Linked DNA regions of Homo sapiens: all the other regions are linked to region 2. The links are contacts of gene promoters, found by promoter capture Hi-C in blood cells and fetal thymus (Javierre and others, 2016). All regions are on one chromosome and are shown on one strand. The core of a region is centred on a gene start or on the middle of the fragment in contact, and the rest is flanking DNA. Distances in the headings are between cores, read along the strand shown.

Region 1 (4,934 bases), core at 17-2,516, 690 kb after region 2:
GTGTGGCACTAAAGTAGGGTGAAAGGAATGGACAATGAGCAGGAGTGGTGGACTGGTGGGGGTGGACCACTCTCTTAAATAGGGGCATGGTACAGCTTATTGAGAAAGTGACATTTGAGAAACAGGTGAGGAGTTAGCTATGTGGATATATAGCGGAAGAATAATCAAGCAGAGCGAACAAACGGTGCAGAAGCCATATGGTGGAAATTTGCTTAAGTATTTGAGAACAGCATTGTGGCTGGAGTAGAATAAACGAGGGGAAATTGGTTAGAGATAATGTCAAGAGAGGAGTAGTTCAGGCAGATGATGTAGATCCTAGTAGGCCATTGTGTGAAGAGGCATTGGAGAGTTTTGAGTAAAACAGAGACAAGATTTGAGTGTTGTAATCTGACATACATGGTGAAAGGACCAATCTGTCTGCTAAGCTCTGGCTTCACTTAGTGGGGTTGGGCTTATAAAAACAAGTTCTATTAGGAAACTATTGAAATCATTCATATAAGAAATGACAGTGGGTTGGAGCAGAGCAGTAATAGTGGAAACAATGGAAAACAATTAGACTCTGAATATATTTTAAATAGAAAACAAACAGGATTTTCTAACAGATTGGATATAGAGCATAAGAAAAAGAAGACTCAATTTTGTTTTGTCCTGAATAAATGGAAAGATGAAGTGACCATCAATAGTGATGGAAAAGGCTGTATGAGACACCTCAGGGGACAGAGGCATGGGCATCAGAGGCTCAGTTTGGATTTTTCTGAGTTTGAGATGTATTTAGACACCCAAGTAGAGATTCCAGTAGGCAGTTAAATAAAAAAATCTCTATTGTTGGGGAGCATTTTCGACTGGAGATTCACAATAGATGGCACTTAAACCCATGAGCCTGAAGGAGGCCACACAGAGAGTGAGCATAAAGAAGAGAAGAAAAGCAAAGACAGAGCTCTGGCCTACTCCAACCTCATAAAGTCAGGGAGAGGAGGATGAAACACCAAAGGAAATGGGTAAGGAACAATGTGTGAAGCAGCAGGAGAGCCAAGTGAGTGATAACTAATGACACCGTACTATAAAATGAACCTGCAGATAAGGTAGCCCTTTACATGGAACACATTTGGAAGTGTGAAAATTTCTGTAGTTCCTCTTTTTCATATGCCACCTCACGCCAGCCATGTTCATTTTTGCCTTCATTAATGGGTCCTCCTTGCAAAGGATCCACACAGAGAACCCCTGCTTCCTCTCCACCACAGAATAATGGCAGGAAGCAGACCTAGCTACATGGGGCTTCATTCTTTTCCATCAGCTTCCTAGAAGCCTGTGGATTAATGTTAGAATCTGCTACTCCTTCGACCATAGAGCACTAAACTTTGCAAAGGCTTTGATTAATTTGAATTTGATGGCCTTAGGGTGCTTTTATATTAAAGCTCTGAAAATGTTCAGAAATTTTGAAACAACCATGATCACATTTACAATTTATTTTTGACACTTTTAAGGTTTTTCAATTTGATTTTTTTTCCTCAGAAGACAGGGCAAACTTTGTAATGATGATTAACAAGAACTCTGTGACACTTACATGGACCTGGAAAAGGGCAGAACACGCCCCTTTCCCCAAAGCACAGAAACAATCAGAACAGGTGAAAGCTGAAGAGTTCATGGGTTTGTAACCAAGTGGACCTATTCTTCTTCATTTATTGAAAAGGGCAGGACAAACACATAGGCATGTGCATTGGAGTAAAGAATGAAGTGGAGTGTGGCCAAGATAGCCAGGTGTTTCTGCCCTGCAATGTTTTCCTGCTTTTCATTTTCCTTGCTCTCTTTGAAAGATCTTATTAAATACAATGATCTCATTCTTTCAAAGGGAGTGGGGCCTTTCCCATCCACTTTTTTCTAAGAGGAACCTGAGTTGTAAATGAAATAAAATCATGTGATCTTGCTGTCATAAATATTCATCTTGGGTAAGTGACTATTTTTAATAATCAAATTCTTTGTTATCCAGAGAAGTTGAGGGTGACTGTACTTTTCCTAACCCACCTGTAAAACTACCTAAGGAATATATATAAATATCTGTATATATCTCTCTCTATATATACTTACTCCTGACTGTAATCATTCTTATTTATTACTATTTAATTTATATGGAACTCTCATAAGCTATCTCATAAACTCACAAATCATCATTCAATAAATCTGACAAATATCAAGTCATGTACTACACACAACTGACAAATGATTAGTATCAAAATATATTTTTTAAATGTGCAGATCTATAAGGACTACAAAGGAAGCATAAGTATTTACTACCTTGCTTTTCTAGCTAAGTCAGGGATAATAGCTAGCTAGTGCTTTCCACACTCAGAAGCAATTGTGTCAATAATAATTTTCATCCCATTCTCTGGCCTCTGTTGTCAATTATAATTTAAATCAAGGCAGAACTAAAGATATTTGCAGTTATTTCCATAAGCATATCTTACATGCTTTTGGCTAGTACAGTTAGGTGGATTTCTGGAGAAATACTAGGTTTATAGCCGAAAAACCATGAGGCAAATCTTAGACATGTTACGTTTGATTTATTGTTGTAATATTCAGTTAGGAAGGTGAAGTCAGTAGTTAAGTAAATTGATCTGGAGCTTATAGAAGAAGCTTGGCTAGGTGAGAAAGATATATTTGAGGGTGATCTTTCTAAGGGTGGGAACTGAATCCATTAAATTAAATTAAATCATCTTAGAAAGAGTAATGAATGAGAAAAGAAAAGGACTAAGGACCTAATCATGAGAAGCTAAAACATTTAAAGATCAGGGAAAAAGAAAATGAACATGCTAGAGACTCAGAATAAGAGGTCAGGGTGCTGGGGGAAGAACTGGGTGTTTTATGTTTTTGAAGCCGAAAGGTATGCTTCTTAAAAATCCAGTAAGATTAAGACTACAGGCACTGAATCAATTCAACTTTTTATTGAGCACCTACTATGTGTCAATCACTTATCTAGGTGATAAGATAAAATGATGATCCCAAACTGACACTGTTTCTCTCAAGAAGCTTTTAACATAGTGGGGCAGTCAGCCCTATAAGCAAATTGTCATGCTAATAAATATGCCGTTATAAACTGAGGGACATGCTCTGAAATATATAAACATATAACACAAGAAGCTGCTTTAGACTGTAGGGACAGAGAAGAATTCCCTGCTGAATCAATTTTTGAGCTGAGGTTTAAGAATAAATAGAGGGCAAATAGGTGAAGGTGAAGGGTAAAGGAAGGAGCATTCCAGGTAGAAGAAACTGTACAGGTAAAGACCATTGTGCCAAGAAGCAATGTGAAGATATTTAAAGGGTTTAAAAGGCCAGAATGGCAGAAGGATAGAGAGCAAGGTGGAAAGTCAAGGACGGTTGGCCTTCAGAGATAGTTATGGGCCAGATGTGAGGGCTTCCTTGGCCATGTTAGAGGTTCTGGCCTTTATTTAAAGAGTAATGTGAGACCGTGTATGCTCTCTAAACCAGCAGCTGTCAGCAAAAGAACCTGAAAAATAGAGGCTAGTATTATAGGAGAGAAAACATACACACACACACACACACACACACAAACACACACACACACGAGTATGGTGAATAAAAATCAAAAGGAGGGAGTGTAGGAATGAAGACAGCAATCAACAATATCAAATGGAAATGCCCTGGAAGTCATCTGTGGATTTGGAGACATGAGATTATTGCCCTTCTTCACAGAGCCACATCAGTGGTGTCATCCAGGAGAACAGAGAAGGAAATGGGAGGGTGGGGGAAGTGTTACCAGTTATTGTCTAGGTTTTGAGTAAAGAAAACTGTTTCTAGTTACTGAATCTATATAGAGTAATAAAACCTATATATATATTAATATTACCCTCCCCCAAGTAATCTACTATCTGAAAAGCATTAGTGAGCAAATTGAAGTGTAAGAAAAATTCTACATGGATTGCTGAAATGCAAGATTTTCATCTCATATTGTATGGAAAACAACTTAGAAAATCCTCCTTGAACCTTTCACCTGTCCCTCTTCAGTCTGCTTCCTTCCAAGATCTTTCTTTTCTTTTCTTTTTTCCCTACACAAAACACTAAACCTGGCTACCTCTTGTACCCTTCAAATCAGCCCCAGCCTCCAGCCCCATAGCAATACTCTGCAAATGAGAAAGTTTTCCTGTCGATCCAGCCACCTTAGATGACATTTTTATGATCATCTTCTATTGCTGATTATGATTTTAGGCTTCTAATTTCAGAAAAAAGCAGAATAACCTCTAAATAAGGATTACATAAATTTAATTTTCCATTTCACTTCTAATAAACATACATTCAGTTTGTGTAATGTAGCTCTTTGTTAACAGCCAGAATCATTCCTCTTCTGTCTATTTGATTTGATACATTGCTCTGCTTCTCAGTTATAGAATCATTTCCAAAATAAGACAAAGTGCTCTATAAATCTGGGTTCCAATAAATTCCACAAACAACCCTAATCATCAAACAAAATTTATTTCCACAAACATTTATGGAACACTACTATGTGGAGGGATTGAGTCAGGAATGGGAATACAAAATGATTAAAAGCATGAACCCTGCCCTGGGGGAAGTTGTACATAATACAACAAGAGATAAATTATAGTTCAGAGTGGTAAATGCCACATTCATGTTTCAAAGCTTCTATGAGCCTTTTATCCTATGTTGGATTTGTGGAGGGGCTTAGTATGGCAAGGCTCTGATTTTGTAGAACTTGGTATTTTACTAAAAGATTACTACTATTCAATGAGTTTTTATGCTTGTGGAGGAAAAACATGGTTAATTACTCAGGATGCCTTGATTTTCCTAAATTAAGTTTGATGGGATTATAAACACACATACAGTGAATCCAAAACAACAATTTTTGATCAATAATGGGATCCTGGGTAAAAATAGAAGATTTTTACAGTGTTCAAGGTTATGTT
Region 2 (4,468 bases), core at 972-3,471:
GTTTCAAGAATATAATGAAGATTCTGGAATAGGCACATAGTAGATGCTCAGCAACATTCCCTTTTCTTCTGTTCATGGCTCCATTCCCTCCATTTATGGAAGAGTTGTATCTGCTTGCTCTCTTCCTAGCTGGCCATTCTCAGAGGATAAGAAAGAATATCTAATATGCCTCCTGTGTCTCCTACGCAGGGGAAGCTGATTTGGTTTCAGTTTAGCACTGGACCTATGGGCACAGAGAATGAATGGGTGTAATGGCTCCACTTTTCAAAGACTGGCCTCACTCATCCCGCAGTCTTTAGTCAGACCCCTAAGTCTAAATAAATATAAGGTCTTTCCCTCCATGTATTGCAGCAGTTCTGTGTTTTCTAGACCTCCCCAGCCTTTCAGAACTTCCTCAATTTTATTTAAAGAAAAATGGGAGGGGGCCACGGAGAGGCTTAGCATCTAACAAATCCCACTTTGTATTAATCATTTTAAAACTTAATGATAAAACTGATAAGTTTAAAATTCAGGTTTGGGAGTTTAAATACCAGCTCTGCCACTTACCATCTATTAGAGCTTCAGTGTTACTTAACTGCTTAGTTTCCTCATCTGTAAAATGAGGATGAAAATACCTAACTCACAAGTTTTTAAATACATATATATATATATATCTCAAATGAATGCAAACCACATCGCCCAATTCTTGGCACATAGTATGCACTCAGTTATATTAACTACGATCATTGAACATCTTCTCTTTACCTTTCAAGTATGTTAATATTGACTACGTCATCCTTTAGGATTCTTTTACACACACAGTACAGCCTCCCAGACTCTGCTGTTTGAAATCTCTGGTCTGGCCTGTTAGAATTTTTCTGTTTTCCTAATAGAAACTAGAATGGGTTAGCCTACATTCGCCAATGCCCAAGTTACTTCATACAGAAACAACTGAACGTTGCAGGAAACAGATATTCCAACTTAATTGCTCAATTTCTTTCCTCTTCTTTTTGCTATAAGCCAACATAGTGCTTTTATAATGCAAACTCACATACACAGCAACAAGAAGTAAAACAAGGGTCACTGAGTTGATCCCATCACCTGACTTCAGCAGGGGAGAAAAGGATACATCATGATCTCTAATTTTCACAAGTGGCTTGCCATCTTCTTTCCCTTCCACCTCCCCCGTCTATCAATCATGAACATAGTGTGCATGTGTGTGCTTACACCCCTTTCACCTTCGGGTTTAATTTTTTGGAGGGATCAGACTTGCATCACGCCCGCACTGGTGGGGGTAGGAAGCGCAGCTAGGCGGGCACGGCTGTTGCCGGCAGGGCCAAAGTCCCCTACCTCCTCCTCGGCGTGTTTGTTCCCTGGACCAAAGCCTCCTAACTACTTTTCTTCACTCCCTAGATCCACCACTCGCCTCCCACACAGGGTGGAGCGCCCCGAAGTACTTGCATAAGACAGCACAATCCCAATTTATAGGTTGTAGGAGCGCCAGTGCTGTCGGTTTTTTTCCCCAAGATATTTATGGGGGTCATTAATTATTTAACAAATCTAATAAAATTGAAGGGCTCCTTCTCCCAGAAAAAGATCGTACACACCAAAAATTCTGCATAGCATCTCAAGGTGTTTATAGACTCCCTGAACCTTCAAATTAAGTCCGCACCAGTGAGGGGCGCGGACCGGCGGAGTAGAAAAAGAAAGGGGTGAAATCTTGAAGTGAGTTAGTTAACATTGATAGATATGTACAATATTTAATATACATAGGTACCTATATGACAAAGCTGAGTAATAGGTTATGGAAAAGAGTGCTTTCCACAAGCAAGTCGGTCATACCGAAGACGGCGAGCAACAGGTGGGCAGAACACGGGGTCCCGCACTCCCAGCACGCGGGGTGAGGGCGGGATAGGAGGAGGTGACCGGGTGTGGGGCAGGGGGCGGCGCCGGGGAGCGGCGGGCTCCACTCACCGTTGCCCACGGAGCTGCGGCCCTTCCGGGCGAGGGTCTGCTGCACCTGCTCCTGGATCCGCAGGCTCTTGACTGTCTGGCCGCCGCGGCCGCTGCTCCCCGCCAGCTTCAGCTTGGCCTCGGAGGGCAGCGCCAGGCTGGAGCTGTCCAGTTGTCCCAGGATCTGCTGGCCCAGGACGGTCCGGATGTAGCCGTACTCAGCTGGGGCGCCGGGGGCTGCCATGGGGCCGGTGGGGGCGACCGAGCTGCTCGCCTGCCTCTGGACTCGCGGGCGAAGCCGCCACGGAGCTGGGGGCGCTGGCGCGAGCCCCGCCCCGCTCGAGTCCGGCCCCGCCCCTGGCCCGCCCCCCGCGCCGGTGAGAGGCCCGGGCCGGGGGGGAGCTCGGCCTCGTGGGCCGGACGCCCGGCCTTCCCTGAGGAGGGGGCGCGGCTCCGGCCGGGCACGCGCAGTCGGGCCCGGGGGCGGGGGCGGGGGCGGGCCGGACCCGCTGAGCGCGCGGACACCTGGAGACTTGTACCCGCCCGCGGGGAGGTGGGGAGAGGGGCGCGGTTCGCCTGGGGTCGCGCACGTTGTCGGAGTCCCAGCGGATACCGCCTGCCGGGGCCGCGCCCCGCTCTGCCCACGCCCCGCGCTGGACAGGATGGATTTCCGCTCGATGCAGGGAGGGGCTGCCCTGCAGGCAGGTGAGCCCTCGAGAGTCACTCCTGTTCTTGGACTGAGGCTTGCCTCCGGGATCCCCGAGCGAGTAGTATGTCTGGTTAGTCAGGCTTTGTCGCACTGTTGGAAACGTTTCCTGGTTTTCCTGGACCTGAGGGTGAGAAAGGGCTATTTGGTCAGGCGGAAAGGGCAATATGAGGGAAATGTGCCAAGAAGATAACGTGTGAAATAAAAGACTTTCTAAAGAGAGTGTTTTTTTTCTTAGTACAACGTCAGGACTATGTACTTTTTGCACAGATGCAGTCCCAGAAACATATGTTCTTCCTCATTGAGAGCTTCTGTTTTCTCTTGGATACACAAATTGTACCCAGTACTCTTGCTAACCCATTCCTCTCTTACGAACACACCCACACAGAGAAACTCCAACAAGAGGCTCTAGAGAAGAAATGAATTTTAATAGACGATGCTTTTTAAATAGCCCTGCTAACGTTGATTAAGTCCTCTTTATTACAGGCTCTTTGTAGAGAGATCCACGGAGAGGGCCTCCAACTTTCAATCGAATCTTCCACAACTTGTATTTATCGTGCTATTAATTATGTTTCACCGCAGTTGACTACTGAGAACTTGAGAGCTAAGCTCAACAGAAAGGATCCTTGACCTTAAAGTTTACAACCAAAGCCACTTGTCCTGATTTGCCTCTTTGGACTTAAGAGGCAGAAAGAAAAACATGTATCCCTGGTATTAAGATAATATTCCCTTTGATTGCTTGGGTTTGTATGTTCACTTTCCCTCAAATCACTCAATTGCTGCAAAACCCCACTTACTCAAGTCTGAAGTGTTTGGAGAACGCAGCTTCCCTCGTCTTTGTTTTCCTACCCACACCCTTCTGCCTTTAGACACACACTGAATGCTTAGACACACAATGCACAGGTATATGGCCTCCCTTTTTACATGAGCGTCCAGGGAGTGAAGAGGAAACCAAAGGACTGAAAGCGTGGACAACAGAGTAGTGACAGTTCCGCCACCCTTTGTCAGCAGGCCACATGGCTAAGTGGGAGCCATATGGATGTGAGTCCTGGAAGCAATTGCTCCCACCCCAATAGAATGGACCACTATTTAGGCAAATTACACCTTGTGTAAAGCTTGCTTATGTAGCCAGGTGGAAACATCCAACCATGATGCTGAGATGTAATTGAAAAGAGAGGGGTGAACTGAAGGTAAGTGATGATAGAAACGTCCAGCAACATTCCTGTTTCTCTCTCTCTCTCTCTCTCTCTCTTTTCATGGCCTCTTCTGGCAGACCAGAATCTGCTGCTTTGAGAGACAATTTCAGTATCTGTCCATACAGGGTCAGTTGGGGCATTCCTTGTTATTTTGTACCTGAAGAGCCATGACTTAAAATGTCAGCTCTGCCTCCAATTAGATTCCTCACCAGGAGACTAGAGAGGAATTTTTCTCATTTATTTTAATGAGCCAAACCTCAGATACTTTTTTCCTCTCAAATTAATTTTTTTAAAGTGTGTTGTTGGAATTGATTATCCTGTTGGGTAGGTACCAATAATTGGGCACATAGAAATCTTGTTGTTGGATTGTTAGGTGATTTGAGGGGAGGGAAGGTGATTAAAAGCACAGCTTGTGAGTGAGGAAAATCTAGGTTTTAACCTTAGCTTACCCCTTGTAAGTATATGGCCACAAGCAAGTTTTTTTAGATTTTTATAACTCTGTACATTCTCTTATCTATAAATGGGAGCAATAAAAGTATCTACTACATAGTTGTATTAGTCTGTTTGTACGCTGCTGTGAAGAACTACATGAGACTGGGTAATTTATAAAGAGGTTTAATTGACTCACAGTTCC
Region 3 (4,985 bases), core at 1,521-4,020, 640 kb after region 2:
CTTACCAGGTACAATGCACTGGACTGTAAATTGTAGGATGAATAAATGCTTTATTCCAAGGAATTCACCGTCATAGATATTCCTGAATACTAGGATTAAAAGGGACCATGAAGACTTTCTAGTTCAGCCCCCTCATTTTGCATACATGAGAAACAAGAAATAGGGAAGTTATACATTTTGCAATGTTAAAAAGCTATTAAGTAGGGAAGCGTGGACTCTAAAATACAATGGGAAAGACAAGCATGCTTAGAAATAATTTAAGTACATGGCAGATGTGTGATGTGGGCTATGACAGAAACACAAATAATGGTTCCATGGTTATATGGGATTCATGTTGTATGATCAAAAGAGCTGCACCATGAAGGCCATTCCAGATTACCATTTACTATATGACCTAAAAGTCACTTAAAGATAGAGACTAAGATTTTTTATCTGTAAAAATTATAGAATAATAAAGATCTTGCAATATTGTGTGAGTTTTAGAAACAAAATGAGCACTTAATAATAGTAGTTACTATTTTGTGATGAGGGTATAGCATTCCACAAATTTAAACAAGTAACAAATCAGATTTTATTATAAGCCAAATGTATGTGTCTATATTTACATATAGACACAGACATACACTCGGTATTAATTCATTTTAAACTTAAAAAGTTATATTTGTGTATGGTGTCTTACTGCAAACCTAATAACAGTTGAAATATTCCTACTAACCAAGGGTTAGAAGGCAGCCTACCCATGACAGAGGAAAGCCTGGACCAGAGATTGAAAACTAGACTTCAGCTTGGTAAGAAATGTATTTGATAGAATGAGGGGAGATTAAAATTGAAGGGCAAGTGGTTTATCTCCCCTTCATAAACAGAAGTATGTCTAGCTTGGTACAGTCCTAGGACAAAAGTAAAAAAACAGAAGTTCAATAGAAATGTGATGAAAATAAGTCAGCTAAATGAGGAATGAAGTTGAAATCATGCCTCAGCGTTACATAACTTCAGTGGTATAGTTCACAGTCAGAAAGCACAGCTTCCTAAAATTGGCAAAGTTATCTATCTTAAAGCTTTATGCAAACTGTATTACAAAGCACAGTTTCATTGTCCAAGGAATAAGTGGCAATTCATTCTTTTATAGAACAACACCATCTTTTCTTCCTCCTACAATTTTTTAATTCATATGGTTTGTAGGACATTAATTAAAACTATGCAGCTTTTAATCAAAGTGGAGGGGGGAATATGTAGATTCTTGCTGACTTTTGGCTTTGTAAACAAGAAATAAGCAGTTCTAAGATAATTGTTAATTTTTCACAATTCTTTTTCTATCTGAATGATAAATTATTCTCAAGAAATAGCAGTTCTAGAAAGGATGTCTAGCAGATTAAAAACAGCAAATAATGGCCAGGCGCCGTGGCTCATGCCTGTAATCCCAGCACTTTGGGAGGCCGAGGTGGGTGGATTGCCTGAAGTCAGGAGTTCAAGACCAGTCTAGCCAACATGATGAAACCTGTCTCTACTAAAAATACAAAAAAATTAGCTGGGTGTAGTGGCGCGCACCTGTAATCCCAGCTACTTGGGAGGCTGAGGCAGGGGAGTTGCTTGAACCAAGGAGGTGGAGGTTGCAATGAGCCGAGATCACACCAGTGTACTCCGGCCTGGGTGACAAGCAAGACTCCATCTCAAAAAAAAAAAAAAAAAAAAAAGCAAATAATGATACATATGAAGTAAAATTATTAGCAGTTGGTGATGCATTGCATATAGTGTGTGAGAAGTTTCAAAGACAACCTCCAATTTTTTGATAAGTGACAGAGTCCTTCACTACTGCAGGAAACACTGGAGAAGTGAGTTTGGCTTTTGTCTTGGTCAGATGCTTTTGGGACATCCACATGAACCTGCCAATTACATGGCGGGATACAGGATTCAAACTCAGTGGAATGGGGAGGGGGAGAGCATGGATTAAATATGGACAATGAAAGGTAGCTGCAAATTATTTGATATTCATACTTTGGAGAGGCTGTGTTCCCTCCCTTTAAATCTGGGTAGGGTCTCTGACTGCTTTGACAAATAGAATATGCTGGAACTAATTCTGTGGCTGTTTCCAGGACTAGAACGAAGGAAACTGGTAGTTTCCTATTTCTGTCTTCTGAAATATTTTCTTAGGGGAATGCAGCTGCTACATGAGAAGACTGACTATCCTGAGACTGCCATGCTATGAAGAAGCCTAAGCTCCTTATGTGGAGAAGCTACGAGCAGAGGCCCACCTTGCCTCCGCTGTTCCAGCCACTCCTGCCCGAATGCCCAACATGTGAGTCAAGAAGTCCTCTTGGCCATTCCTCATTATGTAGTGATAGGAAACACAGCAAAACTGTCACCCAAGGCAATACAGAAAACCGGAGCTTCACGTACTGAACTGATGGATCTATTTTAGGGAGCTTCCAGACAGAATGTCAAAAGTGCCAGCAGGCTTCTTTTAGTTGCTAATAATAAGGTACAGATAGAGAGATATCATATAAAGAAGCTATTATTCAATCGTCATGAAGAATTTAAAGATAATATAAAGGAGCCAGGATTTGCTGAGATAGATAATGAAACTTTCGGCCAGGTGCGGTGGTTTACGCCTGCAATCCCAGCACTTTGGAAGGCCAAGGCAGGTGGATCACGAGGTCAGGAGTTCGAGACCAGCCTGACCAACATGGGGAAACCCCATCTCTACTAAAACCACAAAAATTAGTTGAGCATGGTGGCGTGTGCCTGTAATCCCAGTTACTCAGGAGGCTAAGGCAGGACAATCGAGGTGGAGTTTGCAGTGAGCCAAAATCATGCCACTGCACTCCAGCCTGGGTGACAGAGCAAGACTCTGTCTCAAAAAAAAAAAAAAAAAAAAAGACAGAAAATGAAACTCTTTTTTATTCTCAGTCTCTTTTTAGCAGTATATTCTAGAAGCAAGATAGTGCATCAGGGCAAAGATCAAGTGTGCTATCAGGAAAACACAGTTTCCAGATAAAGATGAAGCCAAAAGTATAATGAATGTGACTGTAAAACTCTTTGTTGAGAACTCAGAAAGATTTAAGGGCATGCTTTGCAGATACTCTTCATCAGGCAGCATGGTTTCTGACAATCTTCATGGGCCATTTGAAGGTTCTCTTCTCAGCACTAAATTTACTACACATATAATTTTTTAATGAATGAGCTGAAAGACCATAAATTATTTTATAAAGAAGTGCTTGGTGAGCATCCTCTAACAAAAGAAAAGTGAATCATTGTTTGTTTTATATGCTACAAAAAGTCAAAGAAAGAAGTGGGGAATACTTAGTCCTAAAAAACATCCCTGTGGGCAATATCAAGCAGAAATAATAAGAATAGCAAATATTCCTAGAAAACTGTTAGTCCTGTAAGGGTTAAAAATCAGTGTTTGGAAATAGGCAAAATTTTCTTCATGTACAGGTGTGAGAATAGCAAATATAACTGACCTAAATGAGCTAAAGAACCTTAGTTTTGGTGTCTACATCACAGCTAATTAAGAGTTCTAGCCTCCAGCGGTCAAATCAAGTTTGCCATGGGTGAGCTTTTAGTCAGAATCAATTGCATGTGTTTAAGAAGAACATGGAAATGATTGAAATTAATATCATTTATTAAATTGAGGATGAAATTCTTATTACCTTGTATGGTATAAGTGAACCATCATTCATTTTATGAAAAATGTGAACAACTTTACTTCCTCATTGCCATATTTCTGAGAAAAATATTTGAAGATTCAGAATCATTAAGCAAGAATTCCCTAGTATACTCACTTGATACTATCATGTTAAACCATATCTGTTTCTCATTCTTTTGTCAGAGGTAGGTTCTCTACAGGTGATGGCTAATGCCCATCTTTAATTCTATCAAATATCCAAGGGCTGAAATTGGTCTGATGTTGAGGTATGCAGACAGGGGGAGGGAAGAGATGTGCATATGGCCTGATACAGATAAACGGTATTTTCCCCCCTGTATGTGCTGAGCCAAGCTGTCCTTACTTGTTAACTTCAGGTATTTTTAGAATAAATATTCTTCATCCTTGGTATAAACAATTGCTTGCTAGTGTCTCTTTTCCTTCGGGAGATGAAGTTATAATGGGAATCTGAGTATATTGGTTGATGCAAAAACAAACAAGGAAACAACAACCCCGCCCCCCGCAAGAAAAGGAAAAAAAAAAAGAAAAAAAGCTAAGCATAAAAATGCTAACAGTAAATGTAAACCGTAATATTGTTTTTTTTTTTATTTTGAAGTGTAACACATTGTAAACCCATGCAAGGAAGTTCAGAGTTCACTATATATTTTGGATGAAAGAACTTATTTTAATGCACATATCCATAATGTGATAATTTTAATGACAGAGCCTGAGAGATCCAAACCCCATCACAGTCTCTTTTCCTTCCTTCTTTTTCTAATCTGATTTCCTTTTTTTAAAAAAATTCAGCAACATCAACTTTAATGTGGTCATTGATTTCCCATGGGCTAAGCTTTCAGAGAAATATACCAGGGTATGTTCACAGCTGATCACAAAGAACCTTCTCTCAAATGAAATTTGTAAAGTGAAAGCAACAGTGTTACTCTTTCCAGAGGTTACTTACCTCTTCTATTCCCAGGACTAAGAGAAAATCATCAGCTGCTAAAATAAAAAGAGTAAGTGCTATTATTTATTTATTTATTTGTTTATTTATTTATTTATTTTGGCAAGCAGGGCTTTATGCAGGAGAACTTAGAATAAGTCAGCACAAACATAAAAGTCTTTTTTTCAACTGATTAATTCCTAGGTACTGTAACATAATTGAATCTGGGGCTCATGGAGTTCAGGCCTGACAAGGTGTAACATTTAAAGACCTATAATAGACTGGGGCGCAATGGCTCACACCTGTAATCCTAGCACTTTCAGAGGCCAAGGCAGGTGGATCATCTGAGGACAGGAGTTGGAGACCAGCCTGACCAATGTGGTGAAACCCCGTCTCTACTAAAAG

What was found. Contacts are between HindIII fragments. The CHiCAGO score rates a contact against its expected background, and 5 or more counts as called.
Region 1: a contact is called between a fragment that was not itself captured here and the fragment with the promoter of PKP2 in region 2, in 1 of 17 cell types (M2 macrophages). The highest score is 5.1, in M2 macrophages.
Region 3: a contact is called between a fragment that was not itself captured here and the fragment with the promoter of PKP2 in region 2, in 1 of 17 cell types (M2 macrophages). The highest score is 5.5, in M2 macrophages.

Annotation. Positions count from the first base shown.
Region 1 is chr12:33,588,816-33,593,749 of GRCh38, forward strand. No RefSeq gene overlaps it. Among named protein-coding and RNA genes, the nearest start is that of SYT10, 150 kb to the left of the region's middle. The HindIII fragment of the contact is 2,725 bases long and covers 1-2,629 here.
Region 2 is chr12:32,894,556-32,899,023 of GRCh38, forward strand. PKP2 (plakophilin 2) reads right to left here and starts at 2,222. Exons shown (of 13, transcript NM_001005242.3): 1 at 1,954-2,222. The coding sequence starts at 2,176. RefSeq lists silencers at 2,221-2,330, 2,531-2,630. The HindIII fragment of the contact is 4,432 bases long and covers 1-3,751 here.
Region 3 is chr12:33,529,058-33,534,042 of GRCh38, forward strand. No RefSeq gene overlaps it. Among named protein-coding and RNA genes, the nearest start is that of SYT10, 92 kb to the left of the region's middle. The HindIII fragment of the contact is 3,435 bases long and covers 1,054-4,488 here.